Linked DNA regions of Homo sapiens: all the other regions are linked to region 4. Evidence: promoter capture Hi-C in 16 types of primary human blood cells and fetal thymus (Javierre and others, 2016). All regions are on one chromosome and are shown on one strand. Each heading gives the region's core, a stretch centred on a gene start or on the middle of the fragment in contact. The rest is flanking DNA. Distances are from core to core; before and after follow the strand shown. Region 1 overlaps GCLC-AS1 (GCLC antisense RNA 1). Region 2 holds the start of ELOVL5 (ELOVL fatty acid elongase 5). Region 3 overlaps KLHL31 (kelch like family member 31). Region 4 holds the start of MCM3 (minichromosome maintenance complex component 3).

The links. Contacts are between HindIII fragments. The CHiCAGO score rates a contact against its expected background, and 5 or more counts as called.
Region 1: a contact is called between a fragment that was not itself captured here and the fragment with the promoter of MCM3 in region 4, in 1 of 17 cell types (fetal thymus). The highest score is 8.9, in fetal thymus.
Region 2: a contact is called between the fragment with the promoter of ELOVL5 here and the fragment with the promoter of MCM3 in region 4, in 3 of 17 cell types (non-activated CD4 T cells, activated CD4 T cells and naive CD8 T cells). The highest score is 6.6, in non-activated CD4 T cells.
Region 3: a contact is called between a fragment that was not itself captured here and the fragment with the promoter of MCM3 in region 4, in 4 of 17 cell types (total B cells, non-activated CD4 T cells, naive CD8 T cells and 1 more). The highest score is 6.3, in total B cells.

What each region holds. Positions count from the first base shown.
Region 1 is chr6:53,479,388-53,486,199 of GRCh38, reverse strand. All of the region lies in intron 3 of GCLC-AS1 (GCLC antisense RNA 1), which reads right to left. Among named protein-coding and RNA genes, the nearest start is that of GCLC-AS1, 51 kb to the right of the region's middle. The HindIII fragment of the contact is 811 bases long and covers 919-1,729 here.
Region 2 is chr6:53,347,278-53,354,003 of GRCh38, reverse strand. ELOVL5 (ELOVL fatty acid elongase 5) reads left to right here and starts at 5,054. Exons shown (of 8, transcript NM_021814.5): 1 at 5,054-5,187. RefSeq lists a silencer at 5,214-5,653. The HindIII fragment of the contact is 17,438 bases long and covers 1-6,726 here.
Region 3 is chr6:53,642,989-53,649,782 of GRCh38, reverse strand. It overlaps KLHL31 (kelch like family member 31), which reads left to right. Exons shown (of 3, transcript NM_001003760.5): 3 at 1-1,867. Among named protein-coding and RNA genes, the nearest start is that of LINC01564, 18 kb to the right of the region's middle. RefSeq lists an enhancer at 6,018-6,312. The HindIII fragment of the contact is 1,807 bases long and covers 740-2,546 here.
Region 4 is chr6:52,282,441-52,289,437 of GRCh38, reverse strand. It overlaps MCM3 (minichromosome maintenance complex component 3), which reads left to right and starts at 4,696. Exons shown (of 17, transcript NM_002388.6): 1 at 4,696-4,841; 2 at 6,032-6,144; 3 at 6,577-6,785. The coding sequence starts at 4,764. RefSeq lists a silencer at 2,070-2,139 and enhancers at 4,219-4,418, 4,739-4,818. The HindIII fragment of the contact is 4,216 bases long and covers 4,572-6,997 here.

The sequences.
Region 1 (6,812 bases), core at 75-2,574, 1.2 Mb before region 4:
ATAATCATACCAGTGGACATTTATTGCACAAATCTAAATGCTTTCCATGTGGCATCTCAGTCTTTACTAGAACCCCTGCAGTAGGATATTATGATTGCCATTTTGCCAGTAATGAAACTAAAGCATAATCAGGTTAAGCAACTTGCCCATTTTTTTTTTCAATCCAAGACAATCCTGATTTGGCTAATCTTGACTGATATTTTGGTGCTTATATATAAAGAGCTCTGGATTATTTGTCAAAAGTCTTGAGGGGGTGGGCACAGTGGCTCATGCCTGTAATCCCAGCACCTTAGGAGACCAAGGCGGGAGGATCACTTGAAGCCAGAAGTTTCAGACCAGCTTGGGCAATATAGTGAGATTCCTGTCTCTGCCCAAAAAAATAAAAATTAGCTGGGCACAGTGGTGTGTGAGTGTAGTCCCAGCTACTCAGGAGGCTGAGGCGGAAGGATTGTTTGAACCCAGGGCTTCAAGGTTACAGTGAGCTACAAATGTGCCATCGCACTCCAGCCCGGGCAATAGAGTTAGATCCTGTCTCAAAAAAAAAAAAAAAAGAAAAGAAAAGAAAACAAAAGTCTTGGGTTCTAGTCCCACTTTACTGCTGATTAACATTTTAACTTGAAGAGTGATTCAATCACTCGGTTGCCCCACTTGAAAAAAAAAAAAAGCTGGAGTACATATCTAGAATCCTTACCACACGAACATTCTATATTTTTGGTTCTTTGACTCTAAAATGGTCAGCTTAAAAGAGTGTTTTCCATCCCTCTTTTGGCTGTTAGAGCCATCCCTGGTGACTTTACCCCTTTCCCCTGAACCTTTCATATGTTTATTGAGCATCCACTCCAGTTGTGCACTGGTGTTTGTTTTCACGGGGTTACTGGTACCCTCCACCCTCACCCCTCTTTCTCCCTGCAGAAAGCTTTTCTAATACTTTCAGCCGTGGTCAATTTCAGGTGATAGCAATGGTAATCATTTATTGAGTACTTACCAAATGCTAGAGACTGACACAGGCTATGTCATTTTTTCAATACCAAGCCCTGTGAAATGGGTACTATCAGACCATTTTTACACCTGTGGCTTAGAAGACTTAAATGTCTAGTGTAAGGGCGGTTGTAGTGGTAGGCAGAGGCAGGTCTCAAACCCTCGCCTACCTAACTCAGACACACTTGGCAATACTATATATCTCTTTAAGCCTTTCAGAGGATATGTTTTAGGAGGTGGATTGTTCCATTTTATATATATATGAACATGATAGACAGACAGATAGATAGATAAATAGATAGAGATAATTTTAAACGTGCTCACTTTCATTTATGAAAATTTACATTTGATAACTAAAAGAGCCTTGCAATTCCAGCATCTCCCTCATGGTGGCAGTAGAAGACTAAGTCATGTACACGCAGCCTCCAGCACCAACAACTAACCCAGAAGAAACCTCCTTAATAAATCAGCTTTTGGTCAAGATTGGTGTTACGTAAAATGCAAAATTAGGACCCTCGGAAGGGGAAAAAAAGAGTCTCAAGTATCTAGGTTATTGACCCCAGAAACAAAAGAAATTTGACAAACTTGCAAAACAGAGACAACAACTTCCTATGGGGGAAAAAAAAACAAAGCAACTACTTGTTGCTGCCCACCCGTTTAGTAACTGGCCTTGGTAGTCTTCCAGCAGCAAGCACAATAGCCTTGTCCACAGATGCTTTTCCCATTTCCTCGGTCCCCTTGAAACCAAGCTTTTGAGAACAAATAGTTTATTTCTCCTTTCTTAATTTGCTCTGAAGGTTTTTAACACAGCGATAACTGGCATATAGAAATTTCACATATTTTTCTTGATCACTATGGCCTATCAACCCCCGCCTGATGATTAAATGAAGGACGATGTATCCAAGGTTCTTAAAGAACTTGGTTGCAACGAATGAACACAAAAAACACCAGACAATAAACATGTATTGAATTATATCTGGGTACAGTAGACACCATTGGGCAGACTTCAGAATTAGCCCCCGGAAGTTTTGCTTTTGCTTGACTCTTGGTCATAGCTGATTGGACTAGAAGTGAACACCTGACTCAGGAGGAGGAAGTTCATTGGCTGACCAGGAGCCAATTAGGGTCTCTCTCTTGAGAACTCTGACTAAGAGACAGAGATGCAGGTTATTTAGTCCAGTTGCGGGTGTAGCATTAGACAGATATAAAACCCAAGAACTCTTGGTACTGAGGCCTGGTTGTTCAACTTTCCTCGGATTTTAGGGGGTGACCAGGATCCCTCCCAGCAAAGTATCATTTTTGTTTAAGCTTAATTTCAGTGGGTTATGTTACATGCATTCTCCATCAAAGACTCCAAGCCCTGTGCAAAGTGCAGTGAGGGCATACAAAGAATTTATGACATTTCCCTGCTCTCCTGGGTATGGGTAATTTTCCTTGCTGTAGAGAGAACAGGGTCTCTGGAATTCAACCCACCTTTGTGACCCTGTGAATGTTCCTTTTTTTCTCTCTCAGAGATTCAACTTTGTTCTCAGTAACATGGAAATGATAGCATCTGCCTAACAGTCATTTTGAACAGGAAGCGTCCCTCTGGCCGGGTGCCTCGTGCATGGCAGATTATCAGTAAATGTCAGCCTCTGCACTGCTTTGCAAGTAGGTCCTTTGGCCGCTCTCAAATGCAAGTCACACAAAGATTGTGGGAGTTTTTTTTTTTTTTTTTTAAATAGAAAATACATCATTCCTATAGAGAAAAAAATACAGTCACATTTAATAATGGCTGTTTAGACAGGGACAGGTTCTCTCGAGCCTCTGGAGGTGGTGGAAAGTGGAGGTGGGTCACTGATCCCAAGAAATAAGCTACAGGACTGAGGCCAGTTTCTGGAGAGGGGATGGTCACTCCTATATTTAAGCCAATAGTGAAGGTTAAGTAGGAGAGTCCAGAGGGACCCTTGAGCCCACTTGCTTGACAATATTGGTGCAGGACAAGTCTAACCCTCCTAACTGGGCAGCTGCCCCCTCCCAATAGTGGTCTCTCTTATGGAGAAAATTTTTACCCGATCAACTTATTCTCGTGAAGCACAAGGGCCTGATATGAACACCCCTTCTGTAGGCATTTTCAAAGAACTTAGTGAGGGTAACAGAAAGAAAAACCTCTATGCATCGAACTTCAGGCACCATCGGAGAAATGTCTTTTCTTAGATTGGCTTTCAAAGTATCTTTAAATCACCCTATTACAAATGGGGTATTAAATAGCCTGCTCTGCCTAGAGAAAAGGTTCCCAAGATTCCTTGTAGCTGCTGGGAAGTTACTGAAATCCTCAGTGACGTGTTTTGAAAAAGTGTTGACAATACAGCGGAAAGTTGCATCTGGCAGCTAACAAATATTTCTTGAGGGTCCACTCGATGCCAGGGATTGTTGCCCTGAAAATGCAAGGCTACCAAAACAAGCAGTTCAGGCCCTCAAGAACCCTGAATGTTCATGAGTACCCACCAAGTGTCACATAGAGCTTATGTCTCAGATGTTTTTCACAGTCCACCCCCCCAGGATGCATTTCCAAATTCTGTGGAGAGCCTAGAACTGTTTCCTCAAAGCCCTTTAGAGCAGTGAGGCACCAATATCTCTCTTTATTACTCCTTTTTCTTTTCTTTCTTTCTTTTTTTGTTTTTGTTTTTTGTTTTGTTTTGTTTTTTTAGAGATGGAGTCTCACTGTATTGCTTAGGCTAGTCTCAAACTCCTGGGCTTAAGCAATCCTCCCATCTCAGCCTCCTGAGCAACTGGGACTACAGGAGAGCACCACCATGCCCAGCTTTATTACTTCTTTTTAAAAAATAAAACTTTTTTTTAAAAGCAGAGAACGTGCTCATTCATTCTGCAGCTGGATCTTGAATAACTTTTCCACTTTGAGAGTTCTGACCCCAAAAACATTGCTGTCACTTTCCAGGTGTTCTATCCTTCCTTGGACCCCATAGCCTGGCTGCCCAGGTCAGACAAGTATGGAACATTTGTTTGTGAGGACAGAGACAGCCACTGGCAACATACCGAGGTATTACAGAGACTTGCTGTGAAGCAAGGCCAACAAAACATCACTTACACAATCAAATAACAAAGAGGGGCATCTTTTTCAAAATTAAAGGTCTATGTGTAAATAAATTCTTTCTGAAAAATAAACAAGATATGAGATAAGGATCCAGGTTTGCTTTGGTATCACTATGGTTACTAGAATGATGTTCAAGACATTTTCACCATGTTCTCCTCCTTTTGAATGCACGCCACAAGTAAAGCATGCCTGAGTTTGGTCTAGAGAGCCTAGGGTGCATTCTCTTTCATGGATGTAGAAGGGATGCAGTTAGCACATTGCTAGTCTTAAAAACAAACAAAAATCCTAGGGAAGATCCTCTCCTTTACTGGCTCAAAAAAGCCCCTGGTAAGAAAAAGTTGTTATACTATTAATGACATGACTGTTTGGTATTGTAAATATCACTCTCAATCAACCAGTATTAGTGAGCACTTCTGAGCACACTCACCATAAGAAGTCATTTACCCGATGGTTATTGAAACTGTTCCATATGAAATTTTGAATTAGTTGCTCAATGTTCTCATTTTTGCCACAGTGTTTTTCTTGACCTAGAGACATACTCAGTTCTATTCCTCATAAGAACAAACTCTTAACTTTGTTCCTGTAACCTAGACTGAGGACTCAGAACTGACCTCGTTTCACTGCTGCATAATACCATATTTCCTGTTTGACAAAGATCCTACCTTGAGCTTGCAAAGACTCCCTGCTTCTTAAAACTGAAACTGGACCCCTTCCTTACACTTTATACAAAAATTAATTCAAGATAGATTAAAGACTTAAATGTAAGACCTAAAACCATAAAAACCCTGGAAGAAAACCTAGGCAATACCATTCAGGACATAGGCATGGGCAAAGACTTCATGACTAAAACACCAAAAGCAACGGCAACAAAAGCCAAAATTGATAAATGAGATCTAATTAAACTAAAGAGCTTCTGCACAGCAAAAGAAACTATCATCACAGTGAACAGGCAACCTACAGAATGGGAGAAAATTTTTGCAACCTACTCACTTGACAAAGGGCTAGTATCTAGAATCTACAAAGAACTGAAACAAATTTACAAGAAAAAAACCCCATCAAAAAGTGTGCAAAGGATATGAACAGACACTTCTCAAAAGAAGACATTTATGCAGCCAACGAACATATGAAAAAAAGCTCATCATCACTGGTCATTAGAGAAATGCAAATCAAAACCACAATGAGATACCATCTCACGCCAGTTAGAATGGTGATCATTAAAGTCAGGACACCACAGATGCTGGAGAGGATATGGAGAAATAGGACTGCTTTTACACTGTTGGTGGGGGTGTAAATTAGTTCAACCATGTGGAAGACAGTGTGGCGATTCCTCAAGGATCTAGAACGAGAAATACCATTTGACCCAGCGATCCCATTACTGGGTATATACCCCAAGGATTATAAATCATTCTACTATAAAGACACATGCACACATGTTTATTGCGGCACTATTCACAATAGCAAAGACATGGAACAAACCCAAATGCCCATCAACGATAGACTGGATAAAGAAAATGTGGCACATATACACCATGGAATACTATGCAACCATAAAAAGGATGAGTTCATGTCCTTTGCAGGGACATGGATAAAGCTGGAAACCATCATTCTCAGCAAACTAACACAAGAACAGAAAACCAAACACCACATGTTCTCACTCATAAGTGGGAGCTGAACAATGAGAATACATGGACACAGGGAGGGGAACATCACACACTGGGGCCTGTCAGGGGTTGGGCGGACCAGGGGAGGGATAGTATTAGGAGAAATACCTAATGTAGGTGATGGGTTGATGGGTGCAGCAAACTACCATGGCACGTGTATACCTATGTAACAAACCTGCACGTTCTGCACATGTACCCCAGAACTTAAAGTATAGTAAAAAAAGACTCCCTGCTTCTTAGTCATTTTCCCTGATAAACATATAAAATGATTGATCATGAATAGAGAGAAAAAGGCACAAATAAGGACAGGAGGCAGTAGAACATAGAGCTCAAGGAACAAGGTCTCTGGCATCTGATTGCTTGACTTTAACTATGTGACCTTGGGGAAGTTACCTAACCTGCTTATGCCTTAGTTTCTTCGTATGCAAAGTAGGGATGGTAATAATAGCACTTACAGAGTTGTGAGGATAAAAGAACTAGTACAAGTCAAGCATTTAAGATAGTGCTTATAGAATAGTAAGCACTCAATAAATGCTAGCTATTTTTCTAGCTGAGTGCAGTTTTAAAAAATTATCCTTAAAAAAAATTCAAAAGACTACTGTAAACTTTAAGTTGATATAAAACTCATAGCAAAACATCATCAAGAAAATGGAAAGCTAAGCCGGGCACGATGGCTCATGCCTGTAATCCCAGCACTTTGAGAGGTCGAAGCAGGAGGATCACTTGAGGTCAGGAGTTCAAGACCAGCCTGGCCAACGTGGTGAAACCCCGTCTCTACTAAAAATACAAAAATTAGCTGGATGTGGTGGCGAGTGCCTGTAATCCCAGCTACTCAGGAGGCTGAGGCAGAGAATCACTTGAACCCAGGAGGTGGAGGTCACAGTGAGCCGAGATCATGCCACTGCACTCCAGCCCGGGCCACAGAGTGAGATTCGACCCGCCCCCACCCACCCCCAAAAAAAATTAAAATGGAAAGCTGAATAGCTAGCTGGGGAAAATATGTGACACAATATAACAAAAGGTGAATGTCCTTAATATATAAAGAGTTGGTAAACATTGACAATTAAAGATATTAAGAC
Region 2 (6,726 bases), core at 3,805-6,304, 1.1 Mb before region 4:
AATGAGCTTATGGGGCTGTGGGGATAATACACAAATATTAAAAAGTAAATCTATACTATGCCAGAATGTTAAGTGCTAAGGAGAAACATAAAGTGTTCCAGAGTGTGAAAGGCAGGGAGGGAGGTGTTGCAAATTTAAAGGGAGTGATCCAGGGGAACTCCCTAAGGAAATGACAGTGATGTAGCAACCAGCATGAAGCAAGGATGTAAGTCTTGGAGATTTCTGGGTTAGATTATTCTAGGCATGAGGTAAAGAGTAAATGCAAAGGCCCTGACGCAGTCTAGTACTTGGTGTGCTCAAGATATTTCTTGGGGCCATTGTGGGTGGAAGACAGAGTAGCTGTTTAAAGTCAGAGAAATGGCAAGTTGCAAAATCATGAAGGATCTTATAGGCCATTGTAAAGATTTTGACTTTTACTATCAGGGAGATGAGAAATTGCTAGATGACATTGAGCAGACATGTGACGTGATTTGGCTTTGGTTTTAAAAGGATCACTCTGGCACCTGGTTTGGGAATAGACTGTAGGCAGCAAAGACAGAAGTAGAGGTCTGGTTAGAAGACCATTACAACATTCTAGGCAATGGTTGATAGTGACTTAAACCAGGTGGTCATGTTGGAGATGGTAAAAAGCAAACACATTCTGGATATGTTTCAAAGGTCAAGTAGTAGAGTGTTGCTGATGCACTGGATGTAGTAGGTGAGAAAAAAAGAGGAGCTAAAGGTAACTCCAAGGTGTCTGATCTGAGAAACGGGGTCCATAGAATTGTCATTTACAAATCTGGGGACTACTGTGGAAGATCAGGTTTGAAGGCCAGTTAAGAGTTCATTTTTTGTTATGCTTAATTTGAGATGTCTTTTGGATATCTCATTTATGAATATATCTCATTTAGAGAAGTCATTAATAAGTAGTTAAGTACGTAAGTCTGGAAATCAGGGAAAATGTGTGGGCTGGAGAAATACACTTGGAAGTCAGCCGACCATAGATGAAATCCAAACACATGAAAGGGGATGATATCACCTGCAAAGGAAATGTGGATACAGAAGACTGGGATGCAGATCTCTTTCATTGCCCAGTCACTTCTGGAGACAGTACTAAAGAGTGTAAAAGGAAGTGGAGAAGAAAATCTAGAGAATCCAGAAATTGTACAAATTGTTCATTCATTAATCGAATATTTATGAACATTTGTGATTTGCCAGAAATTCTGCTAGTCATTAAGAAAACAATATAGCAGACCAGGCATGGGCAGTGTCTTCAAGTAGTTCATGTTCATCAAGATGAACACTCAAGGACAAGGACAGAGATAAACTGCAGGACATATTGTTGAACAGCAATGAAGAAAAGGAATAGCAAAGTAACAATTGAAGTATGGAACTGACTCCAAGGTCTGAGGAGGACAAGAAACTGCCTTTAATCTACCTCTGCCTCCGACAAAGACAAGCCAGGTGGCCTGTGGGAATTCTGGGCAGCAAGATAATAGAAAACACAAATTAGAACAGAAGAAAAAAGGATTGTGGGGGGAGGCGGAGAACGTAGGAACCAACAGAGACTGCAGTGTCATCTTTAGCATAAAATAGCTGCTACTTGACCTATATTTTAGTCAACTTTGATATGTCCAGAGGCAAACATTGGCTTATATCTTTTCTGGAAGGATGTGTTTCATTATGTCATGCAAATACGTCCTAATGAAACAAGTTTCACTAATCAGAATTGTATTCTAATGAAAGTTCCAATTGTATTTTTTAATTCAACTGCAGCTGCTATAACAATAAAACAAATTGCCTAGGATGTTAAGTACTTTCCTTTTCAAAAGCAATACTGAAGCAACCTTCTAATACACTTAGAAGTGTGTGGTTTGAGGAGATTTGAGCTCAATGATGAAAACTAAGAGCAAAAGGAAAAATATTACCAGAATTTAAAAACAAATAGAAGGCCAGGCACAGTGGCTCACGCCTGTAATCCCAGCACTTTAGGGGGCCGAGGTGGGTGGATCACCTGAGTTCGGGAGTTCAAGACCAGCCTGGCCAACATGGCGAAACTCCATCTCTACTAAAAATACAAAAAAATTAGCCAGGTGTGGTGGCGGGCGCTCCCAGCTACTTGGGAGGCTGAGGCAGGAGAATTGCTTGAACCTGGGAGGTGGAGGTTGCAATGAGCCAAGATCGTGCCATTGCACCCCAGCCTGAGCAACAAGAGCGAAACTCCATCTCAAAAATAAATAAATAAATAAATAAATAAATACATGAAGGAGAAAGAAGAAAATATTAATAGTTAGCTATTGAATGAAGATAATTCAACAATCATTTCTTGGGGGACTACCATGTGGATGCTATGAACAAACAGGTAATAGTTACAAGGTTTTGTTAACTGTACCTTACATGGGCTCACATTGTTGGATAGGTGGGTTAGAAGGGCAAGGATGGCTTCAGCACAGTTTCCAGAACCCAGCTGGCCAGGAATCTGATTCTGATGCTACCTAAAACAGGTTCCTTGAGCCCTGTTATTTAGTAAGCCTGGCATTGGATCCTAGGTATTCTTTTGATTTATTTGGAAAAAATCCCACAGTTAAGTTGGGGAGTCGTTTCGGCTCCACTGTTTTTCTTACAGCTTTACTCATGAGTGCAATGATGCAGAAATACGAAGTAATTGTTAGGGTGGGAGGAAGTTTCCCCCAGAGATATATGACACATGATAAACATTACATTGTAATATGTAAAATAATACATTTGCATATATATATATGTTCTGAGAACTCTAAGTCTCTGGCTGGAGAACTAATGAGAACATGACCGTACCAACATGTTTGAGAGGAGTTAATAATCTAATAATCCTGGGATGTGACTATCTGACAGAGGATTGGAACTCTGGAGCTGAAAAGTGATGGTGATGGTGAGGGGGAGTAACTGTTCACAGATTCACTCATCTAACACGTATTTATTGAGCCCTTATATGCCAGGGATTGTACTAAGATCTACAGATCAATAAGGAGCAAAATTCAACATGTTTTCCCCTTCAACGGAGTTTACTACCTAAAGCGGTGGTCTTTAAAGTGGGGTACATATACCCCAAGGATTGAGTGAGATGATGCCATCAGAAAGCAACTACAATACAGGGTGGTGATGCTATAATGGAAACCAAGATACACACATCAACAAAGAACTGTGTAAAAACGCAGCCTTTGGGGGATGGGAAAAAACAGCAAAACGTCATACTTAATCATACAATAAGAAAAATCACTTGATATTTAATGCATAGCTTGACAGTTATATAAGCCTGAACTTAAAGATATTTTGGTCAAATGGGCTTAAAACATTTTATTGATAGGTAAGCACAATTCAAACAAGTGCGGCGTAAAACTTAAGACTTTTGGAATCTCAAGTTAAATTAGAAACTTTTAAAACCTGGAAAGGCAAAACTTAGATGGGATGACAGAGATGAACCCTGGCCTTGGACTACTGGCAGAAGCGTGAAGAATGAAGGAGATATCTCAAAAAAATAGTCTATGCCACCAGCATATGCTTTTCTCATGTCCCTTGATGTCCATAGCAGCATTTACCACTCTGCATTGTAGTTGCTTCCTGACTGTATCATTTTCCAGGCCCAAGAAGTCCTTGAAGGTTTCAAATTTTGAATACCTAACATAGTATCTAGCAAATTGAAGTCATTCAGTGTTTGTGGAGCTCAATGGCAACTGACAATCTCGATTCTTTGTATATGTTTAATTTACTTAATTTGTACATGGTTTGTATACTTGCATTCCTATTGCAATGGCCCACTGCCTGGAACACAGCTGGCACGTGATAAGCATTACATTGTAAATATGTAAAAGAATAAATTTGCCGGCCAGGCTCGGTGACTCACGTCTGTAATCCCAGCACTTTGGCAAGCTGAGGCGAGCGGATTACCTGAGGTCAGGAGTTCGAGACCAGCCTGGCCAACATGGCGAAACCTCATCTCTACTAAAAATACAAAAATTAGTCGGGTGTGGTGGCGCGTGCCTGTAATTCCAGCTACTTGGGAGGCTGAGGCAGGAGAATCGCTTGAACCCGGAAGGTGGAGGTTGCAGTGAGCTGAGATCGCGCCACTGCACTCCAGCCTGGGCAACAGAGCGAGACTCTGTCTCAAAAAAGAAAAAAAAAGAAAAAAAAGAATAAATTTGCCTACATTAAATAGCCGACTGTTAGGTGGATGCACATAGAGGAGTAAGAATACAGCAAGAGGGGCACACGAAGAAAGGCTAAATCTCTGGGGTTTGAATGGGGAAACAGTAGGATACAAAGCTAATGAAGGTCTTTAATTATCCAAATATCAGTGAAAAACAGCAAGGATCTTCCGTTTATGCCCTGAACCCCCTTTGTCTTAAGTGCTTAAATATGCTTAGCTGAAAAGACACTGATTCCATCTTTCCTCATTTAACAATCCTTTAGAATAATTTCTAGAGTAGAAATGGAGTTGATAGTGGCTTCCAAAGAAAAATCAGAATCCCTAAGAAAAATACACGGTAAATCCTTTGCAAGGGAGTTATGGTTACAACAGTTTTGAGTCGTTTTGTTCTTGTTCCTTTATCTTGTTCAACTGCAGACCTTCACTCCGGCGGTCTCCGTGGGCATTTAACCCTTTCAGCTTTAACGATGAAGTGGATCCCCTTCAGCATGACATAACTCATAGAGGAGACCGTAACGAGGGTGGGCTTCTGCCACCCAAATGCGGCCACAGACTCCTGCCACGCCTGGCAGTAAAAAAACCAGAGTTCAGGGCATCGACAACTTCACCGGGGCTATTGCGCAGGCTCTGCGTTCCACGCAGGCTTATTAGGAAGAAAGGGGAAAAAAATTTCCCAGAGACACGTGGAACCGAGGGGCCAACCCCGGCCTAGGCTCTCCACCGCATCGGATTCTGGAATTTACGATCACGAAAGTTCTATTGTCCCGCGATTGGCTCCCGGGCCGCATGACATCATAGCGCTTGATTCATCCTTCGGGTCCCGATTGGCTGGCCGCGCCATTGTGACGTCACGGTCAGCCCACGTTCTGATTGTAGATAGCCGGCGCCTTCCTCTTCCCATCGCGCGGGTCCTAGCCACCGGTGTCTCCTTCTACATCCGCCTCTGCGCCGGCTGCCACCCGCGCTCCCTCCGCCGCCGCCGCCTTGCTGCTGCTCAAAGCTGCTGCCGCCCCTTGGGCTAAAAGGTAAAGCCGTCAGCTCCGGGAAACTTCGTCGGGGGCCGCCGCTCGGCCATGACACCCGCGCGAGCGCGCGGCCGGGAAGCGGTCAGAGAGAACTGCCGTTAGGTCTCGGACCTGGTGCCGAGAAAGAGCTGCCGGGGCAACCCGCGCTCCGCCCGCGGCCTCCAGCTCCGCCGGCTCCGGGGTACAGCCCGGCTCCTCGGGCGCGGGGAAAGGGGTGCGGGTGCGGGCGCGGGCGGCTCGCCCCACGCCGAGGCTGAGGCAGGGCGCTCGGGAGCGTTCTCTGTGCTGCGGTCCCACCTGTGCGCGCTGACAGGCGCCGCGGGGCACGACACCGTGCCCACACCAGACGCGGAGGGATGGATCTGTCCGCCTGGGTCCTCCCGCCCTGCGGGCCGGAGCGCGCGGCGGGAGAGCCGGGGGAGCGCTCTCGGAGGGAGCGCGCTTTCTTTGGAGTCGGCGAAACCCGGGTGAGTTCGAAGAGCCTGTGCGAGGGTCTGCGGGCACCGGGCGCCGCTGGGGGGACTCTCCGGCCTTTCCTTTTTGTCCTGTTCTCTCCGCTTCCGTTAACCCTGCGGACCTTCCGTCCGCCCCTCGGAGGGAAGCCTGCTAGCTCGGGACCGCTTCAGTTTTTATTGAAACCAGACAACGGCAGCCCTTGGTACTCAGGGAGGGATGAGGCTGGTGGGAAAGCGAGAGGGCGGGGACTCGGGGGCGACCGGGGCGGCCCTTTCTGGGAGCCTGATCCCTGGAGAGGCGGGAGCGGTTGGCTGCGAGGGAGGCGCGCGGCGGGGGGGCGGTTGTGCTCTGCGCCGGGGGAGCTAGAGTGTGTGTTGTCTTGCGAGTTGTAAGGAAAAGTGCCTTTTTACTGTTTCCACGCCGGTAAGACTCTCCCACCCCACCACCTCGGGTCGACGGAGCAATGCCTAGAGCAAGAGTTGTTCTTGCTGAACTGCGTCTTGCAACCGTTCCGTGTTCTTGCACTTGGCGGTTCCCCCCGCCCCATCCACAATTGTGAATTAAGCTCCTTGATTGCAAATTTGGAGAATGCATTTGGCCAGTTATGCAAAGTGGCGGAGGTGGCGGGGTCGGGGGCGGGGGGTCTCTTTCGGAAGAATCCAGTGCATGGTTTATTAGCTAGACTGAGGAACCGAGAGGTGCTAGATGGGATTTGTGGGGAGCGAGCAGCCTAATTTGTTTTAAATAGCGGGACCCGTGGCAGGAAGTGCTTCATAGAATTGTACGGAAGAGCTGATGTTGCTTGTCAGGTTTTGTAACTCATTCTCCTAACCGCTTGGCAGATAACCTGTTGGTCTGCACTTGTTTTGCTTGCACGTCTCAGCCAAAAGCATTTCGTGCAGAATCTACAGATAGAAACAGGCGGTTTTGCATTAGATGGCCGTGGACAAACATTTTAGCCTTCCATCTGTGATTGGGGACAAGTGGGTTACTTTTCTGGTAGCTCAGACACTGCCTGGGATTCTCCAGGAAAGCTCTGCACTTGAAAGGGAAATGTTACTCATTTTCCTTTTAGATTTTTAC
Region 3 (6,794 bases), core at 394-2,893, 1.4 Mb before region 4:
CTCATACAACTGAGAAGCCTATAGTATATGGTTAATTTTTGGAGAAAAGGGTGTTTTATTGTGGGTTACAGATCATAAGTGAGTGAATAGATGTAATTCCTTGATGCACACCAATAGATGTGTTCCCATTGACATCTTAGAAGTATTGTATGAAGAGGAGGACCTAGGGCTTGAAATGAAATGAGAATCAATCAATTGCAACATTACATGATGGAATAATGAGAAGAGATACTGAAACTAGAGGATTTTTCATCTATCAAAGCTTGATAAATTAGGTTGTGCAAAAACTTGGCAGTGGCTTTCTAGAGATGAAACTGGAGACATGTTAGTGCTGGATAAATCATTTAAAATTACCATTTAATTTATTTTCTACATTGTTTATCTGAAGACTCAGAAAATCCACATATTTGAGCTTACCAGACTCTTGGGTGCATTGCTGTTCTATCTTCTGCTTCAACAGTTAGGAAAATAAAGACCAATATGAATTTGGAATGTCAGAATTTCTGACATAACACATTGGCGAGGAGTATGGAATGTAAGGGTCGGTGAAAGTTTCATATCCTGGAACATCTTGCATTGCCAATTGAAAGACATAAAAGTATGCAGAATCAAAATAATATGTGTCCACTTTCATGTGTAAGTGAAACATATTCTTTACACCAACTATTGAAGCAGTTGCTCCTAGAAACCTAGTTTCTCCAGATTTCCCAAGTGGAAAATATTTAGTATGTTTTAAGCTTACATTCAATTACTCCAGAGTCTTAGGACCCAACCATATACTTCCTTTTATTTTTTATTAAAGAAAATGACTTGTTATTTTTGTAACGGCTGAGTCCTGTGATCAAATAAAAGCATCAGTTCAATATATCAGGGAAATTGCATGTTACCCAGCAACTGAAATAATAAAATTCAAGCTCTCTTTTTCTAAATGGGCCAGAGACCTGATGAGAAAGTCTCCAGGAAGCCAAACTTTAACATACTTTGTCCATTTTTAGTTAGGTTCTTGGTGCCAAGTTGTCATCCCTGATGCATTAGTTGCTTTCAGTGCATTGAATGAATTTTATTTTTACTTCCTATGTTGTAAGAATGGTTTTGAATAGAAGGTCAGTGATGGTACAGATTCGTATAATTTTAAAACATGATTAGATGGTAGTGAAGTGTTATGAGTGAGGAGGTATAATTGATGTCATGAGGAAGTGAGTACTGAATGGTTCTATGATTTAAGGTAAAGCAGCAGTTGTAGTAAGTGTATTTTACAAATACACATGTAAATAGAGGTTTACCTGGAAATATGTACGTTCTAAAAGGTCAATTTTTTAATTTTATTTTTTTGCTGGTTATCCTGGCCAAGTGTCTTCAGAACTCATCCAAGTTACGAGACGAAATAAACTAAAATCACCTCATTAATTTTTTTCCCTTAGTTACAACCAAATGAATTTATGTAATCTCTGAATGAACTACATCCCTATTCCAGCCGCTGATGAATATGTTCTCCAGCACAAGGCAGCATTAAAAGGAAATACTTTTCAGTATTTCTTTTCATGCCAAAAAACCTACAGAATAATTTTCCAAACAGTCCTTTATTCGTAATTATAAGAATTAAACAATCTAAAATATTAAAGATTTACCCTCCAGCACATTCACTGGGTAAAGACCATTTAATTTGCCCTCTCAGGGAATTTGAAATAAATTATTTGTCCTGGATATTCTTTAAAAACTTTTTATTTATTCAGCAAATTTTGGCAAAAAAATTTCTTTCTTTGCTTAAAACATTCTGGTACTATATAAGGAACAACAAACTAAAATGTATGTAGTGTTATTTTGTAATCTCATCACTATCAATAAAGCTGCATTCAATAAGACCTTAGTCAATGACTAAATATGGACAGTTTTGAAATATCCTTTCTCTGATGATTGGGGTGTTTGTTTTTTTCTCTACTTAGTTTTCGTGATGATTCACCTAGACAAAACAACAGCAAATGACAAGTAATTGAAAAAATGTTTCAACAGCTTGAAGACTAGTGAAAGAAAAAGGTATAAAACATCAGTAGAGACTTGCTTTGTAACTCAAAGAAAAGCCCAACTCTGGTCTAGCTCAGCCCCGACTATTTAGAAGTCGTAGGTTAAGTGTGGTTTCTCTTCCTGTTTCCACCCTGACCACAGCCAGCTTGTCACAGGTTCATCATCATTTGCAACAAAACGTTTTAGGAAATAAAATCGCATTGTTGTGTAGACAATCCCTTATAGCCTTTCTCTTCTACCTTACCCCTCCAAATGAGCAAGTAAAATGTAACCAACATAAGATGCTCAACCTTTGATCTAATGTAGTACTTAAATAATAACATTCAGTTGAGGCCATCAAATCTAGGAAATTCTAAATGGCAGCAATGCTTTTCTTAAACTTCTCCAAGCCCTGTAATCATATAAATAGACTAGATAGCCTCAAACACAAAACAACTGGTGCCACAGTCCAAATTTTGAGCAGACCAGCCAGATGCCTCAGAGTTTCTTTGCATTTTCTTTAAACTCCCACATTACTCCAAGCTTCCCTACAGATTTGTACAGCCTCCCACAACAATCTTGGGGATGTCTCCACTCTCAATTACAGTGGGAAACTAGGCAGGATCTTTTTTCGCTAGGCCAGGTATAGACATGATGTATGCCCTCTCCAGGCTTCAGCACTGTGCTGAATTCTGTCTACATCTCTTTGGCCAGAACAGCCATCTGGCCTACTTAGATGAAAGGGAGCTAAGAAAAAGGTCTTCATGTCCAGGAGGAAAAGTAAAGTTTTCATATAGCATTGTCTCTGCACAATGAATGGCTAGTCATCTTCATACCTGGTTACCAAAGGAGCAAAGAGCTTCCCAGTCAAACTGCCTCCCCTCAGCCACACTGCTCTGGCCCTGATCACACCATAACAATGCTCTTCTCTCCCTTTCCTGGGTCACAAGACATGTACTCAGCTCCCCTATTATACCTTGCCTTTTTTCTTCTGAAGAACAAGCCCAGACAACTCTTGTAGCCTTTTCTCAATTCAGTGCCCTTACAGGTCAAGAGCATGTATTAAATGTATTCTGCCAGCCTTGAGTGTTTGCACAAATCTGGTTCCCAACAGCCATCAAATAAACCCATTTAATGTTAAGAATTGCCCTCCTCACCCCTCCCTCCCTGGGTCTCCTTGTTCTTCTCTTTCTGGAATCGTCTTAATTCTTCTTGATCTAACCTCTTCTAAAAGAATGTTGAGTGAAAATGATACATCTGTGACTTAATTCCTGCCACTCTAGCCATACTAGCAGGTTCCCAATACATGACGATTTGGGGAGAAGAGAACACATGTAGAGTCTAAAAGAGGACATACACGCATCTGTTCTTAATCCCCATTAGCAGAAGAGTATTCCTGAAAGGAAGAGGGGGAAGGAAGCTAAATGGTGGTAATCTGTCTCTCAAGTTTTATTCTGCAATATTAATGAAACGTTTCCATTTTTTGCAGAGTTCCAAACTGAAAAATGCTTTATTTCATTACAATTCTGCATATAAGTAGCAAAGAAAATTCTGTATGCCAAAAGAATCCTTTGTTGTTTAACAAATGTTCATTAGACATAATTATTTCCCAGCCTCATGCCCCTGATCATATTCTGTCTTTCTCTGCCCTGCTCTGTGCTCCGTCCCCTAGGGACTACATCATCCAGACTCAGGCTCTTTGGCTGAACATTTTATTCATCCAACGGGAGGTATCAGAAGGAGGTCAGAGGGCAGAAGCAAGTGGTTGGGATATTTTTTTCTGCCCTCTTCAGGCTTCAGCACTGTGCTTCTGGCCTAGGCTGTAACTTTCAACAACTCCAGCCCAGTGGCCTTTCCTCCCTTGTTCAAATCTCGCCATGCTTACGTGCCATCATAGCTTACCATCTCTGGATATTTTCCTGTTGATTTATGTTCTGCCATCTCTTTTAGAATATCATCCTTAAAGGTGAAAATTTTGTCTCGTTCACAGATGTACCTCCGGTGTCTAGAGTCATGCCTGGTGTATAGCAGGAGATCAATTTTTTGTGTGTGAAGTAAATAAGTGAATGAGTGAATGAAACAATAAAACCATCATGACCTACTGCTTGCTGATCTCTATTCCAATATTACTCATTTATTTAATCAGCAAATACTTATTAAGCATCTACTGCATGCAAAACACTTTCCCTTACCCCAGTAATCACTAGAGGGAAGCACATTAAAGTACACAACCATGATAACTAGGACTTTTCCAAACTTGCTGCAAGCCAAAAATTAAATTGTTAAGACACATTACAGGTGGAAGGAGTTATGCAACCAACACTTTCCATTTCTCAAAAAAAAAAAACTCAAAAGATTGATATCTCTATAGCTATGTCCCCATTAAAATTTTTTAAATTGCATGCATCTTCTCTATAATTGCCAATTCTTCAAAAACAGGTTAGGACTAGCTTCATCATTTAGCTAGTAAGCATTTATTCAGTGCTTACTAAGTACACACACACACACACATCATTTAAGTGTGAGTGTGTGCATATATACATATATTCTGCGTGTGTGTGTGTGTGTGTAAAATATATGGTCTTATGCTTGCATTCTGAAATTAAGAGCCATTATGATTACATCACCTTGTCTCATATGAGAGCTAAATAAGTTAATAGGTAAAGTTCATTTCTTTAAATACTTCTCATGGGCAGCCATGTTTTCAGAGACACGGGGAAACCTGAGAAGGTAGAGCCTACACACAGATACCCAGGGGCCTTTTTCTGACTCAAAAATGAGAGATAAACAGGGACTCCTGGAAGCAGAACCCTTGCAGCCCAATCCCTGGTGCCCTTCGGAACCCCAGACCAGTCTCCATTGAAGGTGTTTCATTTCCCTCATGGGTAAAAATACTGAGGACAAGTCACTCAATGCAGAGTCCTTGGAGATGGACAGTGAATCTCTGGGCCTGAGTCTTCCAGAGACACTTGGAGCGCAGTAGTCCATTCTCATGCTGCTAATAAAGACATAACTGGGACTGAGTAGTTTATAAAGGAAAGAGGTTTAATTGACTCACACAGTTCAGCATGGCTGGGGAGGCCTCAGGAAACTTACAACCATGGCTGAAGGGGAAGCAAGTACATCCTTCTTCACATGGCGGCAGCAACAAGAAGTGCTGAGCAAAAGGGGGAAAAGCCCCTTATAAAACCATCAGATCTCGTGAGAACTCACTCACTATCACCAGAACTGCCCCCATCATTCAACTACCTCCCACCGGATCCTTCCCCCGGGGATTATGGGAACTACAATTCAAGATGAGATTTGGGTGAGGACATAACCAAGCCATATCAAGGAGAGTGAGATATTGCATAAAGAAATAAGGGGTGGCAAATTCAGCTGAAAGAAGGACCGGCTCCTGCTTTGGAGGCACTCCACAGAGCCACATTTCTGAAGATGGTGAGGTGTAATGGAGACTGATCCTGGGACAGCTTTGGGAGCCTGCTGGAGATGGCAGGGCCACAAATGGACAAACGGAAAGAGTTACTATTGGAGGGGAGCCTCCCCATGTGGGACTGCTTGTTTTGAACAGGGACAAACTAGCTCCACCGAAAATCCATGAAATGTTAAGGCATTGCCAATTTCCATCATTCCCCCTGAATTCTTAAATTAAAATCCCACTTGATAAATTAGTGCCTTTGATGAAGCCATCCAGTCCTCTGCCCCTGCCTGCCGGCACTGACCAAATACAAAAGAAAGAGGGAGTCTTGAGGGGAAGGAGAGCCCTGTGACCTCTGCAGGAAGATCAGGGTTCCAGGCTGCAGAAGAAAACTTTAAATCAAGGGAAGAATGACCTTGCCCAGGGCTTTAGGCACATGGGTCCTCCGCTGCAGCATGTGCCACTGTCACTCCCTGACATGCGCTATGCAGAGAACAGGTATTACACAGCACTGCTTTGATGTCTCCCAGGTTTAATGTAGGGCCAAATAGGGCCTAGAGTGGCCAGAGCTCACAGGCTGGTTCCTCTGGCTGTGGCCGGCCTTTTCCATTTTTCCCTAATGCATTGTACAAACATTATCTCTTTCCATTTGTGCAGTGGGTAGAGCAAAGTTACAGAGCACTACTTTATAAAGCCTGGCCTCCCCCTCTCCCAGCCCCACTGATGCCTTTTGCTTAGTCACATGTTTGGGTCAAAGACAGAACACTCAGCAAGGTTCAGTGTGGTTGGCTGTGGCTCACAGAATACAGGCAACCAGGGGCAGAGCTGCAGTACTCATTAAAACCGTGGAGAGCTTGCTGACTGCCTCAAAAATCAGCAGTCCTGAGTATCTGTGCCGTGCTCTGCTAGTGTCTGAATGCTAGAGAGAGCACTCTACTCTTTTTAGACTTCCCAGAGATTCTAGTATCTGCTGCTATGACTGTTTTTTGTTTGTTTTGTTTGTTTGTGACAGGGTCTCACTCTGTCACCCAGGCTCAAGTGCAGTAGTGCTATCCTCTGCTGACTGTGTCCTCAACCTCCAGGCTCAACTGAACCTCCCAAGTAGTTGGGACTATAGGTACATGCCACCATGCCTGGACTGTGACTGTTTTTATAATAAAGACCCAACATACTTTAAGGAGGGGAAAAGAGCTGGCCAAACGATTTTCTGCCTGGGTCACAGAATATGGTAAAGTCAGGGAGAACATAGACTTGATTTCACCAGACTAAGAAGCCTTCAAGTCATTCTCAGTGAACGCCAATCCTCTGATGTTACAAGCGCTGTGTTGGGTAGCACTTGATGAGAATCTGAGTAAGTCCATCTCTTCACTTGAGG
Region 4 (6,997 bases), core at 3,447-5,946:
TAAATATATTACTAAATTAATTTCAACTGTTTCTTTTTTACTTTTTAAAATGTGGCTACTATAAAATTTAGAATTATGTATGTGTCTTGTATATTTCTATCCAGCAGCACTGATCTAAAAGTCTTTGTTCCAGGACAGAATTAGGTATACAGATTACAGATGCTTAACTAATATTTGATTGTTTGGTATGGCTAAAGCTCTTCATCATTTTTAAAAACATTTATTTCTTTTTTCCCCTACCATGCCAATGTACATCATTTTATTACATTAAGGGACTGTATCTTTAAAAATGCATGCTTACAACAAATCTAGACAGATTTACAGAATGGAGTTATTATCAGAGCATTTCATATGCTATATTCATATTCACTCAATTTGTGTTTAATCATTTCCTTCTGCAAATCTGTGGTTCTAAGCATTGAAGCAAAGCTCTTCAGAGCATCAGTAAAGACTTGTACAATTAAGAATGGGGGCTCAGCCGGGTGCAGTGGCTCACACCTGTAATTCCAGCACTTTGAGAGGCCGAGGTGGGTGGATCATGAGGTCAGGAGTTCAAGCCTGACCAACATGGTGAAACCCAGTCTCTGCTAAAAATACAAAAATTAGCTGGGCATGGTGGCGCCTGCCTGTAATCCCAGCTACTCGGGAGGCTGAGGCAGGAGAATTGCTTGAACCCGAGAGGTAGAGGTGGCAGTGAGCCGAGATTGCACACTGCACTCCAGTCTGGGCGACAGAGCGAGACTTCGTCAAAAAAAAAAAAAAAAGAATGGGGGCTGGGCATGGTGGCTCACGCCAAGGTGGTAGGATCACTTGAGGCCAGGAGTTTAAGACCATTCTGGGCAGCATAGTGAACCTATCTCTCAGAAAGAAAAAGAATGGGGATGACTTCTTACGGACTAAGAAATCAGATTACTGAAATTAACCTTGGCAAATACCAATGAATCACTAATTGTTGGCAAGCCAACTGTGTTGTTATATTTAATGGGAAAATCATGATCACTGATGTTCTCTGTCTGGCTCCTGGATTTTCCGGCTCTTTTTAGCATATCTAACCGGAAGGACTCCAGGAAGCAACAGAAGAGTGCAAAAGGGAGACAAGAAAGGTGATCAGACTCGTTTATTTATTTATTTTTTGAGACAGAGTTTCACTTTTGTCACCCAGGCTGGAGTGCAATGGCGTGATCTTGGCTTATTGCAACCTCCGCCTCCTGGGTTCAAGCGATTATCCTGCCTCAGTCTTCCAAGTAGCTGGGATTATAGGTGCCGGCCACCATGCCTAGCTAATTTTTTTGTATTTTTGGTAGAGACGGGGTTTCACTATGTTGGCCAGGCTGGTCTTGAACTCCTGACCTCAGGTGATCCACTTGCCTCGGCCTCACAAATTGCTAGGATTACTGGTGTGAGCCACTGTGCCGGCTGACCAGACTCTTTTAAAAGAGTTTTATAAAGGAGTCCATTTAGTATTCCATAATGTTCTTTGAGCATGGAGTAAATGCATCTGATGGCTTCCAACACTGTCGGAATCCGAGCCAAACAACACCCTGCCTATGTTATTTTTTTTAGCCAATTGGACTTCCAGCAGAAAAAGGTCCCACTCAAGGAAGTGTCTGGGTTGGTTGTATTGTAAGTTTTTTGGTGGAAGTGGGAAGGGGGTTTGAATTTGGTTGTCTGAATTGTTTCAGAATGCACTACAGTGCTTCCTCCCCTTCTCCTATCCCTTGACTCCTCTCCAACTACCATTCACCACCACTACCAATGGTTAACATTTATTTAATGCTTACTACATACCAGGCACTTTTTTCAGTAGTTTACATCTGTTATGACTTCACTGGATACTTAAACATTTGAGTTAGATACTACTAACCTAATTTGAAAGGTGAAGAAACTGAGGCACAGAGTGGTTAAGTAAGTTGCCTAGTCGTGCAGGTAATATACAGAGCAGCCAGAAAGAGTAACCAAATCTGCCTGTCTTGGTGCTTGAAACTCTAGATGCTACAGCATCTGAAGATTCTGACTTCACACTGCAGAACTGTGAGGTTAGGGCAAGCCTGTGCCTACAGATTATTCCTTGAGCTGCTGTGACACCTGGAGGCATAGATTTGCTCACCTCCAAGCTTTGGTGGCCTTTGAGTAAATGTCAAAGGACTGCTAATGAATTATGGCACTTTCCTGAGTGCCTAAACAAGTTATTAATTACAGGGTATTATTTGAAATGTTTTGCAACATATAATGTTCATTAGTTTGAACAAAGGTATATATAATTTCTTGTAATAATATTTATTATGGATTTGTATTGTGTCTTTGGGTATTTTTTGGACCCTGAGGACATAGAAAAATGGCAGTATTACATCTATTTTGCAATCTCTTTGCAATCTTGTTTTCTTTCCATTCTCTTCCTGTATACTCTGCTCTCCAGGGAGCCCCCTAGCGTTTAGGCAGCCTTGGAGATGGGCTTGAGTCCATTAAAGTCTAGGGTGGAAAGAAAATTGAAATGGAGGAAAGCAGGAATGTGACCCAAGTATGGAAACTGTAGATACACTACTTTATTAGATTATATGTGCTTTTTAATTTTGAATCAGGATAGAGGAGGACTACGGGCTAAGCTCAGCTGGACTTTTTATGAGATATGTACAAATGCCCCTAATTTTTCTGTAGCAACAACCTGATTGATTTTGGGCAGTTTGCAGGTGTCGGGGATAACAAAGGAAATACATTTCCTCTGCTTAAAGATTTCATGCCCTAATGAAAGAAGGGAGAAACACCAATTAAATAGCGGTGTGTCCTTCACAGCTGAAGATGATTATATTGGGACAAATCAAGTCTTTATCAAAGACCATGGCATGATTAATTCATTAAATAGAATTGTCTTTACATAGTTTCCAAATTTGCCATTAGCTCATGGAATGTTAGAGTAAGACAGATTATCAGAGATATTCTAATTCAGTTTCTTCATCTTATACTGTATATAAGGAAACAAGCCCAGAAAAAAGTGTGAGAATCAAAGATGTGGTTTTCAGATTTCCACTCTTTTGGACTTTCTACTACAAATGACTCGACTTCTTTGCTAGTTTGAACTAAGCTTCCCGGTTCTTTTAGTGTTAATTTCAAATTGTTTCCAGAGCAGAGGATATCTCAGTACTCTGTCCAATAAGTTCATAAAATAAGAGTTATGAGTAAAAAGTCTTAATAAATCAGTAATTACCTCTTGCTATATAACGGCAAACAGTATCTTTATTCTAGAATTTTCTTTTTTTTTTGCCCGTTAATAAACATAAAAGCAAGCAGTCAAATGACAGCCTTTTTGCTTTGGCTAAGGATCGATTTATCTGCCCACTAGGATGGCACAAAACATACAGTAACTATAAACTGAATAATAACTAGAAATACATATACCCACACAAATAGATGGCCTATATATTTTGTTTAGGCAGATTATTCTTAGAATATTTATCAGTACATAGTGAGTCCTGAAGACTTTAAAACATAAGCTAATAGTTGGCTGAAATTTCAGATAAAGAATTATCAAATGTCTGATGTTGGGCAATCCAGTATTTCAGCTTCTTGTTCAGTAAAATTAAAAACACATGCTGGGGCAATGGGCTTGCTCTTTATTGTGCAGAGTGGTTACATGGGTGTAAGCACAGGTAAAAATTCACTGAGCTGTACACTTAAGATTTGTGCATTTTACTGTATATACATTATATCTCAAAATAAAACTAGAAATATAAGAAAAAGCCAACCACGACGGACTGAAAACAAACATACAAATTTGGACGTGCGATGATCTTTTAGTCATTATGGTTTCAGATTTGCTGTTAGTTACTGATTGATATTTAATCAAAGTGACGTGAAACACTTTTTCCCCTCTTGAGCTGATCGTTCAGTAAGCTAAGTTACTTAAAAGGATCTTGTGATCTTTTTATAAGACCAGAAAGCCTTTAATTTACCTGTTATTAAGTAAGATGGAGTAGTAACGGTTTCCAAAATTTGTATAACACACGATGAAGTCTCTAGGGGGCAGGGTAAACACAGATTTTTTTTTTCACTTCATCCTTCTCTGCGGCGATGTCTTTATGGAGTTCGTCAGGCAACGGTATCAGATAGCAAATGGGTTTTTAACTAATCTTTCCCTAAGGTACTGTAGTTCTATATTCTATCCTATAGATTCTCAAAATCCACTTTTACACTAGGATGCCACTGGAGGGCAGTTCTGATTTGGATATATCTTAAAAATGATTTGCTTTTATGTTTTCATCTCCCTGCGTTATAAAGCACCATCCTCTGAATTTGGTCGTTGCATCGGGTCAAAAGTTCTGCAGCTTGAAAAACCCTGCAAAAACATCCGGAAAGGAGGGAGAACACTACAACTCCCAGAACGCAATGCTTTCCCTCTCGCCAGCCTGTCCCCTCCAGCTGCTCAATGACCAGCCTCTGTGAGCCTCCTCTCAGCCCTATTGGTCAGTTTGCTCGTCAGTGAGTGAGGCGGAGGGAGGGGAGGAACAGAGAATCCCGGATGGTACGTTTCCCGCCACCGCGGGGCGCGCAGCGGAAAACCCGAAGAAGAAGAAGCTTTTGATTGGACAGTCGCTAGTCCGACCTCAGAGAACTCAGCCAATCATAATGCTTATATGCTCCCAAGGTCCCCGCCTCTTCCTCGAGGTAACCTTTGGTGGCGGGAAGAGTTCGGAAGTTTTCGCGCCGGGGTGGAGTCATCCTGGGAACCTCCACGCGACTTTGGTGGAGGTAGTTCTTTGGCAGCGGGCATGGCGGGTACCGTGGTGCTGGACGATGTGGAGCTGCGGGAGGCTCAGAGAGATTACCTGGACTTCCTGGACGACGAGGTGAGGGAGGCGCCGGCGCGCGGGCTCTAGCGCTCGGAGCCCCTGCGGACGCGGCCCGGCCGGGAAGCCAGAGGCCCGCCAGACCTCCAGACCGTGTGCCGCAGCGGAGCCTGCCGGGCCCGAGCCTCCAGCCCCAATCTTGTAACTTCTCAACGCCGGACTCGCTAGTTTGTGTTCGATAAGTGAACTCTTAGGAAGCCAGCTTTCTCTTAAGTACAAGCGATGGTCCGGGCGCGCAAAAGGCGACAGGTTCCCATTAAGTGCAAGCAGATTGGCAAAGCCCACCTCGGCCTTTTGCATTTCACTGCTCTCTCTTGATTTGAGGAGACTGTGGGGGAGGGGCTGCCCTAGGGCTATAGTGACCAGCCGCGTTGCAGAGTGCTCAGATTTTAGGGACTGACGTTTTACCTGGAGGAAAAGACTCCATAATTCGGCTGCATTCTTTTTCAATACCAACTAAGATGCAGATAAAAAGTGTTTTGTGTGCAGGCCAAGGGGATTTTATGTGCAACCCAAGACTTAAAGCCATAGAATGTTGAAAAAACCATCTTGAAGGGTTGATGATGTGACCAAATAGCTGAGATTCTCTATTCCTTTAGGTCGGGGTATGAGAACCCTTTCCGTATTATAGAGATGATTGGAAAAAATATTACTTTTTACATAATTCTTAAATGAAAAGCCATTTTAATGTGACTATTAAGAGTCTGTTTTATTTACATTTTTATTGTATATATTTGAAGTGCACATGTTTTGATATACATGGTGAAATGATTACTACAGTGAAACAACATATCCATCTATTCACGTTGTTACCTTTAACATTCACATTGCTAGGTTTAACTTAACATTTTAACAAAGTTTGCACTTACTGTCCATTTAGACTTCTCATGAGCTCATTTTAATTCTCCACTAAAGACAGAAATTACAGCATGCAGAAAAGTTGTCCATGATGATGGGAATAACAGCATGGACCTTGAGGAAGTCATTATAATTCTTATAGTCCCCTCTTAGGGTGTTATTTCGAATCTAAAAACAGTGAATGAAAGGGAGAAATTGATGAGCACATACTTACTGGGGATTCAGCTCTGCTGCAGAGATTGACTTAGCTATCTGGCTATGAGAACTACTTCTGTTTAGAAACATTGTTTTTAAATTTGTGGCTATGGTGATATGTGGTGGCTGTTTTGCAGGAAGACCAGGGAATTTATCAGAGCAAAGTTCGGGAGCTGATCAGTGACAACCAATACCGGCTGATTGTCAATGTGAATGACCTGCGCAGGAAAAACGAGAAGAGGGCTAACCGGTGAGAGGCAAGGGGATATACTGGCTGTCAGTGAGAATGGCTCCCTTCCCTCTTGGCCAGATTGGAACAGCCTCTCAGGAGAGGACTTGTATGAAACAGGATTGATCTACAAGCCCTCGTAGCTCACCTGCACCTATTTTTTTTTTTTTTTTTTTCAAAAAGTGGGTGGTTGGCATTTTCCTCCCAAATGCCCCTCCTTCCAATGTTTAGCTGAATATCATTTTTATATCTTTGATAAGTTGAGGTGAAGTTGGTCCTTAGTTCTGGTATTTTACTGAGTCTTATAGGATGGTGTTTTACTGAGACTTATAGGAGAAAGCAGAAGCTGGATTTTCTCATTGTTTTTAATGATCTAAGAATGTCTGCTGTTTTGAGGATCCATTTTTTTGAGTTCTGCCCAGTCTAATTTTTCTTTCTCTTGCTTATGTACAGGCTTCTGAACAATGCCTTTGAGGAGCTGGTTGCCTTCCAGCGGGCCTTAAAGGATTTTGTGGCCTCCATTGATGCTACCTATGCCAAGCAGTATGAGGAGTTCTACGTAGGACTGGAAGGCAGCTTTGGCTCCAAGCACGTCTCCCCGCGGACTCTTACCTCCTGCTTCCTCAGCTGTGTGGTCTGTGTGGAGGGCATTGTCACTAAATGTAAGTGGGTTAAAGGGGGCCGCTTAGGAAATGAATAGACAGGGAGATGGGGAAAGCAGGAGAGGCAAAGTAGATCTGGGTAGCTTGTGGCTTCAAAGAGGTGGAGCATTGGAATTACGTGGTAAAACTTGGAGGGCTCAGTGTGTACAATGATTGGGGGACCTTGAGTAATCACATGTATTAGTAGAATGATGAATTCTGCTGAGAGCTGG